Regions from separate parts of the Homo sapiens genome. Here region 2 is linked to region 1. Evidence: promoter capture Hi-C in 16 types of primary human blood cells and fetal thymus (Javierre and others, 2016). All regions are on one chromosome and are shown on one strand. Each heading gives the region's core, a stretch centred on a gene start or on the middle of the fragment in contact. The rest is flanking DNA. Distances are from core to core; before and after follow the strand shown. Region 1 overlaps LAMP3 (lysosomal associated membrane protein 3). Region 2 holds the start of YEATS2 (YEATS domain containing 2).

What was found. The method cuts DNA at HindIII sites, captures the fragments that hold promoters and counts their contacts. A CHiCAGO score of 5 or more calls a contact.
Region 2: the fragment with the promoter of YEATS2 here is called in contact with a fragment that was not itself captured in region 1 in 1 of 17 cell types (erythroblasts); the score reaches 5.9 in erythroblasts.

What each region holds. Positions count from the first base shown.
Region 1 is chr3:183,123,002-183,129,017 of GRCh38, reverse strand. LAMP3 (lysosomal associated membrane protein 3) reads left to right here. Exons shown (of 6, transcript NM_014398.4): 6 at 4,804-6,016. The coding sequence ends at 4,937. Among named protein-coding and RNA genes, the nearest start is that of MCCC1, 27 kb to the right of the region's middle. The HindIII fragment of the contact is 1,275 bases long and covers 3,430-4,704 here.
Region 2 is chr3:183,693,972-183,699,656 of GRCh38, reverse strand. It overlaps YEATS2 (YEATS domain containing 2), which reads right to left and starts at 1,860. Exons shown (of 31, transcript NM_018023.5): 1 at 1,664-1,860. RefSeq lists a silencer at 1,486-1,955. The HindIII fragment of the contact is 10,471 bases long and covers 1-5,685 here.

The DNA.
Region 1 (6,016 bases), core at 2,818-5,317:
AGAGTCTTGCTCTGTCGCCAGGCAGATATTCTTAAACATGAAATAATTCAAAGGATGCAACACAAATAAGCCCTTATAAAAAAATATTTGTTGACAATGAAATTCACCAAGAGAGGAAATGAGTCGCAATATAAACAAGGAAATAAACAGCCTTCAGGAATAGAAAAGTCACAGTAGGCCTGGCCTAGTGGCTCACACCTATCATCCCAACTCTTTGGGAGGCTGAGGCAGGAGGATTGCTTGAGCCCAGGAGTTTAAGACCAGCCTGGGCAACATGGCGAAACCCCATCTCTACAAAAAATACAAAAATTAGCTGGGTGTGGTGGCACATGACTGTAGTCCCAAACTACTTGGAAGGCTGAGATGGGAGGATGTTGATCCATTTATATATAAAACATACTAAACAATTATGGGCCTGGGAACACAAACACACCTTCACATATATGAAATGATATTTGTACGTGGTTATTCATTACAACATTATTTATAATAGCAAAAAAATGAAAACAAGCCAAGGGTCCATCAATAGGGGCCAGATTTTAAAACTGTGATTCATCCCACAATGGAATCCTATACAGCTACAAGAAGAATGAGGATGCTATGTATGTTTAAGGAAAGAGTTCCAAAATATGTTATATCAAAAAATCATAGTGCATAATAGTATATTCATTATTGTTCTAGCTGCACAAAGAAACATCAGAAATATAAACAAGAACTAAGGAAAGGAATCATCTAATGGGGACAGGGAGAACTAAGAGGAAGGGGCAAGGGTGGAAGTGAAACTTCTCAATGCACAGCATCTTGTATTATTTTGACTTTTCAAATCATATGACAGTGTTAAATCGTCAGAACACTTTTTTTTTTTTTTTTGAGATGGAGTGTCGCTCTGTCTCCCACGCTGGAGTGCAGTGGCGTGATCTCGGCTCATTGCAAGCTCCGCCTCCCAGGTTCATGCCATTCTCCTGCCTCAGCCTCCCAAGTAACTGGGACTACAGGCGCCTGCCACCACAACTGGTTATTTTTTTATTTTATTTTATTTTTCATATTTTTAGTAGAGACGGGGTTTCACTGTGTTAGCCAGAATGGTCTCGATCTCCTGACCTTGAGATCCACCTGCCTCAGCCTCCCAAAGTGCTGGGATTACAGGCGTGAGCCACCGTGCCCAGCCAGTCAGAACACATTTTAAAGACTACAGGAATGATAGTTATCAAATAGAATTGAAGTGTCATAAACCTGGACAATGGATCAAGGTCAAAGATTGTTTCCTTAAGTTGAAATAGCAACCAAAACGTTGTTCACACAGGGCTTGGGGGGCGGCTGCTGGCACTGTGGGCTTCTTAATGAAAAAATTTAAGCTAAAAACATCAAAAATTAAAAGTTTTTAAAACATTTTTCATTTAACAGGCCATTGAAATGCATGGTACAAAAATCAGTGATAAGGTTATTATAAAATGAAATGGACAGAATAAATGTTTGATTTAATTTTCCATCTATGAGAATTTCACAATAAAATCAGTTTACTTTTTAAAAAAGAAAAAAAAAACATAGACAATGTTAAAAACAGTGACATAACTATTCAAAATTTGGAGTTGTCTGGGCACAGTGTCTCACACCTGAAACTTTGGGAGGCCGAGGTTGGAGGATCACTTGAGGCCAGGAGTTCAAGACCAGCCTGAGCAACATAGTAAGGACCCCATCTCTTCAAAAAAGTTAAAAAGTAGCTGAGTGGGGTGGCATTTGCCTGTACTACTAGCTACTTGAGAAGCTGAGGTGGGAGGATGGCTGACCTCAGGAGCTGGAGGCTTCAGTGAGCTATGATCGCACCACTGCCCCCCAGCCTGGGCAACAGAGCAAGACCCTGTCTCAAAAAAAAAATTGGGGGAGTTGAAGAGAGGGGAGATGGAAGGGACTCTGTTAGTGCTACTCTTTCAAAACAGTATCAATAGATAATGTTTAAACTGGAAACGAAGTTTAGTAAACACAAGTCCAATTTATTTCATAACCTCTTAATGTATTTCATAATTGTTTAATGCATACTTCATAATCTCTTTTTAGAACTCTAAAGGGACCCTTTATGAACCAATATTTCCCATGACAAAGAAACATTGGTTTGTGATAATTCCTTCAAGTTCTTTTATCCTATTAAACACAAGTAAAATTGAAATTAACAAATGTAATAAAATAGTACTTGTATGATCCTATCTTAATAAAAGTATTTCTATTTATTTTTCTAACCTATCTATCCTTGTAGTTCTAAAGAAAGAGGCCTGAAATAATGTTTCTCCATATTAGCAATGACATTTCTTGGTGGATGGTCTTGGGGTAATTGGTTTTACTTTTTTGTTTGTGCTTTTTCTCTATTATTTTAGTTATTTATAATGAGAATAGACTATTTAAAATAGAGTGATTTTGCTTTAAGCATGCACGTGAGTTTGCACACATGCACACGTGTGCACACACACACACACACACACACACACACATTCACAGAGGAACTACATGCCCAAAAAGGTTTATAGTGATTGATTCAAATAGAAGAAATGGGGTGATTGGATCAGTCACTTCTTTTCTTTGTGTACTCTTTTGCATTTTAGAAATGTTTAAACAATGTTAAATAATTTAATAGCTTAACAAGAGAGAGTAAAAGTTGCCCTCCACTTCCTTCCCAGTCCTCCTGCCAGTTTTTGGTGTATCTTTTCACACTGGACCCACAAGCACATGGGTTTGGGTTCACATGATACTTCACGGAGCTTAAGGAACTTCTGTTACAGAACACCGAGACCTACCACGTTCTTTTTAATGGCTATATTATTTTCTATTGTCTGAATACTATTTTAGTTTTTACGTATATTTAAATTGTCTCATAAAATGGACAGTGCTGTAATATACCTTTGCATAGTGTATGAATATATCTTTGGGATAATTTCCTAGAGATAGAATTATTGGGTCAACAGGTGTGTGCATTACATTTTGTTTTAACTTTTTGTATTTTTTCCCACTCATTTTAATTCCTTAACTTGTCAAAGTTCTTTTTTCGTTTAAGAAATATAGGCCAAGTGTGGTGGCTCACGCCTGTAATCCCAGCACTTTGGGAAGTCAAGGATTGCTTCAGCCCAGGAGTTTGAAACCAGCCTGGGCCACATAGCAAGACCCCATCTGTAAAAAATAAAAAATTGGCCCAGCATGGTAGCACACACCCCTAGTCCCAAGAGGATGAGGTGGGAGGATGGCTTGAAGTCAGGAGTTCCAGGCTGCAAAAAAAGAGAAACATATATAAGTAACAAAGTTTCATGTACTCCAAAAGGTCTTATCATGGAAAGCAACATTTCTCTGTCCCTCTGCCTCCCTGCCCCAAGATACAAGATACTTTTAACTAATTTTAACAATTTCTTCTGATTGCTATCTCCATAACTCTAAAAAATAAAAGCTTATCATGATAGTTCCTAATTGATCCATTTTAGACTTCCTGCTATAGCACATAAAGATTTGTGGTTACACAACTATTTTTGGGTAAATCAGTAAGGTATTAAGGCACACATTATTATAGTTTTATAAATATTGTCTGCTGTCAAGCCAAATCGTGTACTACAATCACAGTTTCTTTCTTGTCCAAATTTTCTTTTTCCTGGAATCTTTAATTAATTGCCACTCTGTCTTCTCTGACCTCTTCTGATACTTTTTTTCTCAGATCTCAGGTACACTGAATTGGGTTGATGGTGATCCTTGGTTCAGGACATAATTTCAGTGTTAGTTCGTACAATGACCTCACACATGTATCTTTTTAGCTATAATGACTAAGACATGGTTCTTCATTTATTTGCTCTTTTCTCCCAGTCTCTTCATTAGAGTATTCTATCAACTTCCCCTTTTACCCCAGACCCCTCCGTCTTTCCTCGGTTGAGATTTATTAGTCTCTGACCCAATCAATTACATTAAATGAATTGAGTAAGCGTTTTCTAATGGTATAAAGAAAAAACAGTCTTGATAAGTTTGTAAACTCTCACTTTTAAGCTCTCATAAATAATTTGGTCTGTTTTCTAATATTAGCTAAAAGTAATACAATAGAACCTTAGGAGTGACAAAAATGTTTTATAAAGTGGATAAAAATCATGTTTCTCAAGAGATCATCTGTAATCTGGTCACTGGTCACACAAATGTTTTTTGTTTGTTTGTTTGTTTGTTTTTGAGATGGAGTTTCGCTCTTGTTGCCCAGGCTGGAGTGCAATGGTGTGATCTCGGCTCACCGCAACCTCTGCCTCCCGGGTTCAAGCAATTCTCCTGCCTCAGCCTCCCGAGTAGCTGGGATTACAGGCATGTGCCACCACGCCCGGCTAATTTTGTATTCTTAGTAGAGATGGGGTTTCTCCATGTTGGTCAGGCTGGTCTCAAACTCACGACATCAGATGATCCGCCCGCCTCGGCCTCCCAAAGTGCTGGGATTACAGGCGTGAGCCACTGTGCCCGGCTGGTCTCTTTTATGTAAGCATATCCCACTTAGCAGGGAGTATGCCTGGAGTGACTTCTTACTCAGTTCAGGAAATAAGGATTATGATTATTGAATGTTAATTACTAAGAAAATATGGTTATTTAATCTTCTGACAGTCTTACATATTATTTGCTTACTTTATAAATTAGGAAATTGCAAGGGTAAATTACCTGCCCAAGGTCACAAAGCTAGTTAATGGTGGAGTTAAAAGTCAAGCTTTGTTTGATGCCAAAGCTCATCTTCTTTCCCCTCTAGCCTGCTTTCTGGACTGCATCACCAAACCTTACCCACTGTATTGTATTTGTTTTCTCTCTTAGTGGATGAGTGCTCGTCTGACTACACAATTGTGCTTCCTGTGATTGGGGCCATCGTGGTTGGTCTCTGCCTTATGGGTATGGGTGTCTATAAAATCCGCCTAAGGTGTCAATCATCTGGATACCAGAGAATCTAATTGTTGCCCGGGGGGAATGAAAATAATGGAATTTAGAGAACTCTTTCATCCCTTCCAGGATGGATGTTGGGAAATTCCCTCAGAGTGTGGGTCCTTCAAACAATGTAAACCACCATCTTCTATTCAAATGAAGTGAGTCATGTGTGATTTAAGTTCAGGCAGCACATCAATTTCTAAATACTTTTTGTTTATTTTATGAAAGATATAGTGAGCTGTTTATTTTCTAGTTTCCTTTAGAATATTTTAGCCACTCAAAGTCAACATTTGAGATATGTTGAATTAACATAATATATGTAAAGTAGAATAAGCCTTCAAATTATAAACCAAGGGTCAATTGTAACTAATACTACTGTGTGTGCATTGAAGATTTTATTTTACCCTTGATCTTAACAAAGCCTTTGCTTTGTTATCAAATGGACTTTCAGTGCTTTTACTATCTGTGTTTTATGGTTTCATGTAACATACATATTCCTGGTGTAGCACTTAACTCCTTTTCCACTTTAAATTTGTTTTTGTTTTTTGAGACGGAGTTTCACTCTTGTCACCCAGGCTGGAGTACAGTGGCACGATCTCGGCTTATGGCAACCTCCGCCTCCCGGGTTCAAGTGATTCTCCTGCTTCAGCTTCCCGAGTAGCTGGGATTACAGGCACACACTACCACGCCTGGCTAATTTTTGTATTTTTATTATAGACGGGGTTTCACCATGTTGGCCAGACTGGTCTTGAACTCTTGACCTCAGGTGATCCACCCACCTCAGCCTCCCAAAGTGCTGGGATTACAGGCATGAGCCATTGCGCCCGGCCTTAAATGTTTTTTTTAATCATCAAAAAGAACAACATATCTCAGGTTGTCTAAGTGTTTTTATGTAAAACCAACAAAAAGAACAAATCAGCTTATATTTTTTATCTTGATGACTCCTGCTCCAGAATCGCTAGACTAAGAATTAGGTGGCTACAGATGGTAGAACTAAACAATAAGCAAGAGACAATAATAATGGCCCTTAATTATTAACAAAGTGCCAGAGTCTAGGCTAAGCACTTTATCTATATCTCATTTCATTCTCACAACTTATAGGTGA
Region 2 (5,685 bases), core at 611-3,110, 570 kb before region 1:
TCTGCGCCCTTTTCACTTCTCCACACTCTTTCCCCTCAGTGATCTCACACAGCACCATACCTTTGAATATCATCTACGTACAGATCACTCCCAATTTTTTTTTTTTTTAAGAGACGGGGTCCTTCCTGCCTTGTAGCCAAGGCTGGTCTAGAATATCTGGGCTCAAGCGACCCGCCTCGGTCTCTCAAAGTGCTGGGATTTCAGGTGTGAGCACCGCGCCCAGCCACTCCCAGATTTTTATCTCTAGCTCTAGCCTCTCTCCTCCTTGAGTTCCAGCCCTCTACATCCAACTGCCTCAACACACCGACTTCATAACTAACATGCATCTAAAATTTAATACATCTAAAATAGAATTCGTTTTTCCCACCTCAAATTTCTCTCTTCCATTCTTCATCTCAGTAAACAGCACCACCACCTACTCAGTTGCTCAAAACAAAAATCAAAAAAGCAAAGATTCCCACCATTCCCTCACCAATCCAAGTCTTGTTCATTCTACCTTAAAACATTTAAAAATCTGTTTATACTTCCCCATCTCCCTGCCACGGGCCTAGTCCAAGCTACTGCAAAGAGCACAGTAACTGACCTCGTAGGTTCCTCCCCAGCCCTCTTCCTCTACATAGCAGTCGGATCATGCTACTCGCCTTCTCAAAACCTTCAAAGGCTTCCCGGGAAAAACTAAACTCCTTATCAGGGCATCATCTGCCCTATCTTTTAAAGAGTATACACAAACAGGAATATACATCCAAGGGTAGTATCTCTAGATCGTAAAACTGCGGGCATTTTTCTCTGGCTTTGCTTGTATTTTTAAATTTTTCTACGCTGAATACCCTCTACTCATTAAGAAAGGGGAAATGATATTGCTGAATTCTATATAATATTATACCGCATTTTTTACATGTGAGCGAGAAAAGGGAATGGAAAACGTGGGTCAACTCTGTAACTGCTGAATGCTTAGATGAAAATACTAGCCAACATCAAACTAAAAAAAAATGATGTGTCAGGCCTGTAAGATTGCTGATGGCATTTCTCTTCCTCTGGTTTCTATTTCTTAACATAATCACATTCATGATGGAGAAAACCTCATTGTCTTCTGCAGTCTGGCCACAGCCCTTCAAGCCAGCCTTTCCTGCAGGAGTCCTCACTTTCCGAGGCTTCCACTCCGCCCCGCACTGCCCGCAGCTCCGGCGCGTTGGCCCCGGCCCCATCCCTGGACCCCCAAAGCCTCTCTGACCCCTCCCCTCCATCCCAGGGAGGCCCGGTGGGGATGGCGACAGGTTGGAGGGGCATTCCAGGATCCTTTCGGTAAACCCACGACTTTCTGGTGCTGGGGCCAAATCTTGCCTCCAAGGCCAAGAGCTTAACATCCTAAAAGCTCCGGCCGCTGTGGCTCGGGGTCCCGTATCCCCTCAGCGCAGCGCCCCGCTGAAGAGGAAGCCCCCAACTCACGTTCCAATTCCAGGCTCCCGCTTCTGCGGCTCCCCGGCCCGCACCTGGGATCCTCCCTGCCCTCCCCTCGGCCCCGGGGCCTCACCGGGTCCCGCTGCCGCGCTGCCTGCCGATGGGGGAGGGGCGCGCACGTGCCCGCGCCGCCCCCGCCCAAACAATGCCCCGGAGAGCGGGGCGCGCTCCCGGCCGGTCCCTTCCTGCGCCCGCCAACACTCACCCTTTCTCCGGGTCTCCGGCTGCAGCGCGGGCCCCGCCGGCCGCCGCGAGAGAGCACGGCGAGGTGAGAGAGCGGGCGAAGCCCCGCGGAGCTGCCCCGCCACAAGGCCCCAGCGACCCCCGCAACCTGCGGAAGCACACGGCGCGGTGGAGCCCGCCCGGCGCGTTCCGCCCCGCACGTCAGCAGCTGGGCGCGTCGGGGCGCGCGCGGCGGCGCGCGCGGCCTCGGGGCGGAGCTCCCAGGGATGAGGGCGGGGCGGGGCGGGGCGGGGCTGGTCCGGGCTGGGACCCCGGCCCGCGAGGGCACTTCCTGGGCAGTGTGGGCGTCGATTCTTGCAAAGGCACAGTCGTCCATCACTTTCCTGCCCCAGAAGATGGCGAATTTCAACCCCAAGTTTGACAGAATATTCATTCTGCCGGCGTGTATGAGCTTCCCTATTAATCACAATAGTGACTATGATGTTTGTGTGTGCCATCTTTGTGCCAACCCATGTGCTAAGTGCTGGGTATACAAAATAACAGTAGTTATTTCTAGCCCATTTTACAGATGAAGAAACTGAGGCAGGGAAGGCTTGAGACTTATCTCAGTCACACTAGCTAGTGACAATCCAAGTCCAGTTTTCCACCTAAATATCACTTGAGGCCAACATTCTCTTTCGTTGTAACTCTACCACCCTACCCAAGACCCTGTAATCTCTCTGCCCAAGACTATGAATAGCCTCCCAACTGGTCTTGGGGAACTTCTGTTCCCCTTCAATCCCTTCTCACTGTATAACGATTTACTACTGGAGCTGAGTGGTGGGTTTAGGAAGTTCACTTTTTTTTTTATACTTTACATACATGTTACCAAATTTTTAATGTATTTAATGTTTTTATCAACGCATAATAAATATAAGTGGTGTTTTGTTTTTTGTGTTTTTTTTTTTTTTTGAGATAGAGTCTCCCTCTGTTGCCAGGCTGGAGTGCAGTGGCATGATCTTGGCTCACTGCAGCCTCCGCCTCCCGGGTTCAAGCGATTCTCCTGCCTCAGCCTCCCAAGTAGCTGGGATTACAAGGCGCGCGCCACCACGCCTGGCTGATTTTTGTATTTTTAGTAGAGACAGGGTTTCACCATGTTGGCCAGGCTGCTCTCGAACTCCTGACCTTAGGTGATCCACCCGCCTCAGCCTCCCAAAGTGCTGGGATTACAGGCGTGAACCACCACCCCCAGGCTAATTTTGGTTTTTTTAGACAGGTCTCACTATCACCACAGCTAGTCTCACACTTCCGGGCTCGAGAGATCCTCCTGGCTGGGCACGGTGGCTCATGCCTGTAATCCCAGCACTTTGGGAGGCTGAGGCGGGCGGATCACCTGAGGTCAGGAGTTCAAGACCAACCTGGCCAACATGGTGAAACCCCGTCTCTACTAAAAATACAAAAATTAGCCAGGTGTATTTGGGCATGCCTGTAATCCTAACTACTTGGGAAGCTGAGGCAGGACAGTCACTTGAACTCGGGAGGTGGAGGTTGCAGTGAGCCATTGCACTCCAACATGGGCAACAAAAGTGAAACTCCATCTCAAAAAAAAAAAAAACTAAGAAAGGCTTCCTTGAACCTTAAGCTAAGACTCAAGAGATAATAGGAACTGGGGAGATAAACAAATTTCATGGAGAAGGGGGTGAGGTCACAGGTCAGGATGAGTGTGTTGGTGTTCCCCTACTCTTAGGGTTTAACAGTGAGGTGGAAAGCATAGAAATACCCAGATAAGTGCCAAGAAAGCTAGAAGCTGACTTCCCTTGGTGTAGCTTGGAAGGCTGTCCAAGTCTGTGAGAAGGCTCACACAGTAGGGCTTGGGAGCAGGCCATGGCGTTGGGAGGAGTCTGCAATAGTGCTGCTGGAGCGCTGCAGCTTGCACATTTAGGTATGTCAGAATTCCAGACTTCTCTTGTTGCTCCCTGCCTGGCATGCAGAAAGTAGCATGGTTAAGAGCCATGGACAGACCAATAGGCACTGTGCCAGGGGGCAGGTTTCCTAAAGCAGAGGCCTTGTGGTGGGCTGATGGCCAGGGAATGGCTACAGAACGTAGCTAAGACCCCAAGGATAGGCAGTACTGAAGATACCAGTGGAGCTGAAGCACCCCTAAGTCAGCTGGTGAGAGGAGCGGGGATGGAGGAGTGGGGATGAAAGATGAGACATCAAACTCTGAAGGTGCTAAAGCAACAGGTCATGAGCTTGCCAACCAACCACCTCAGCAGCTGATGCCTGCAGGGCAGTGGAGACCAGAAGTCACCAGAGACATAGCAGCAGAGGCCAGTGAGAACCCAGGCTATAGCTTGAAATCCCGCACACAGATCTCCCCTCCCACCGCTGCCTTGAGGCTTCCCCTGTATCCTGTAGGCCGCCTTGGGAAGTCAAGGGGAAGAAGGGTAAAGTTCTGATAAGACTACAACTTTGAACTGTTTACCCAAATATTCACCAAAATGAAACTTTTTTTTTTTCTTTTGAGACTGAGTCTTGCTCTATTGCCCAGGCTGGAGTGCAGTGGTATGATCTTGGCTCACTGCAACCTCCGCCTCCTGGGTTTAAGTGATTCTCCTGCCTCACCCTCCCGAGTAGCTGGGACTACAGGCGCGTGCCACCATGCCCGGCTAATTTTCTGTATTTTTAGTAGAGACGGGGTTTCACTGCGTTAGCCAGAATGGTCTCGATCTCCTCATCTCGTAATCTGCCCGCCTCAGCCTCCCAAAGTGCTGGGATTACAGGCGTGAGACACCACACCCAGCCTATTTGCCCTTTTAAAAACATCACTTGCAGCTGGGCGCGGTGGCTCGCGCCTGTAATCCCAGCATTTTGGGAGGCCAAGGTGGGTGGATCACCTGAGGTCGGGAGTTCGAAACCAGCCTGGCCAACATGGTGAAACCCCATCTCTACTAAAAAAAAAAAAATGCAAAAATTAGCTGGGCGTGGTGACACATGTCTGTAATCCCAGCTACTCTGGAGGCTTGAACCTGGGAGGTGGAGGTTGCAGTGAGCCGAGATCATGCCACTGCTCTCCAGCCTAGGTGACAGAGTGAGACTCCGTCTCAAAAAAAAAAAAAATCATTTGCCCCAATGAGTAGGTGGGGAATGACTGAAGAGGTGTGTGAACATAGAAGCAGTGAGACAGTTGGAAAGCAATTTCAGTCATCCAAGCAAAAATTGAGGGTGGCACTGGTCGTGGTGGCTCACACCTGTAATCCCAGCACTTTGGGAGACGGAGATGGGCAGATCACCTGAGGTCAAGAATTCAAGACCAGCTTGACCAATATGGTGAAATCCCGTTTCTACTAAAAATACAAAAAAATTAGCTGGTCGTGGTGGCTTGTAATCCCAGTTACTCGGGAGACTGAGACAGGAGAATCGCTTGAGCCCAGGAGGCAGAGGTTGCAGTGAGCCAAGATCGTGCCATTGCACTCCAGTCTGGGCAATAAAAGGGAAACTCCATCTCAAAAAAAAAAAAAAAATGAGGATGGCTTACCCTGGCAGTGGAGATGGTGGGAAGGAGATAGATACAAGAACTATGGAGAAAATACCAGAAGACTTGATGACGATGAACTGGGAGGAGACTGGGGAGAGAAGGGAAGGGGACTGGCCTCTGCTAAGTCAAAATGGCCTCTTAGATAAACTGCCCCTTCCTCCAGGCAGACTCAGCTCTGCTCTGGAGCTTGGCAAGTGTTTAGAGGCTGGTTTTAGGCTCCTGGCTAGCCAGGCTCCCTTAGGCAGCACTCACCTGCACAGCCACTGGAGGTGGGCCTGGAGGGAGAACTGGGGTTGGCTCATACGTTTCCAGCAGTGGCTGATGGTGGATGATGGTGTCATTTCCTGAAAGGAGGGAGACTAAAGGAAGAACAGATTTGAATGTTGGGGGTGGGAGAATCAAGAATTCCCTTTGGGGCATTTTAAGTTTGAGGCATCCACTCGAATACTTTTTTTTTTTTTTTTTTTTTTTGAGACAGAGTCTCGCTCTGTTGCCGAGGCTGGAGTGCAGTGGTGCGATCTTGGCTC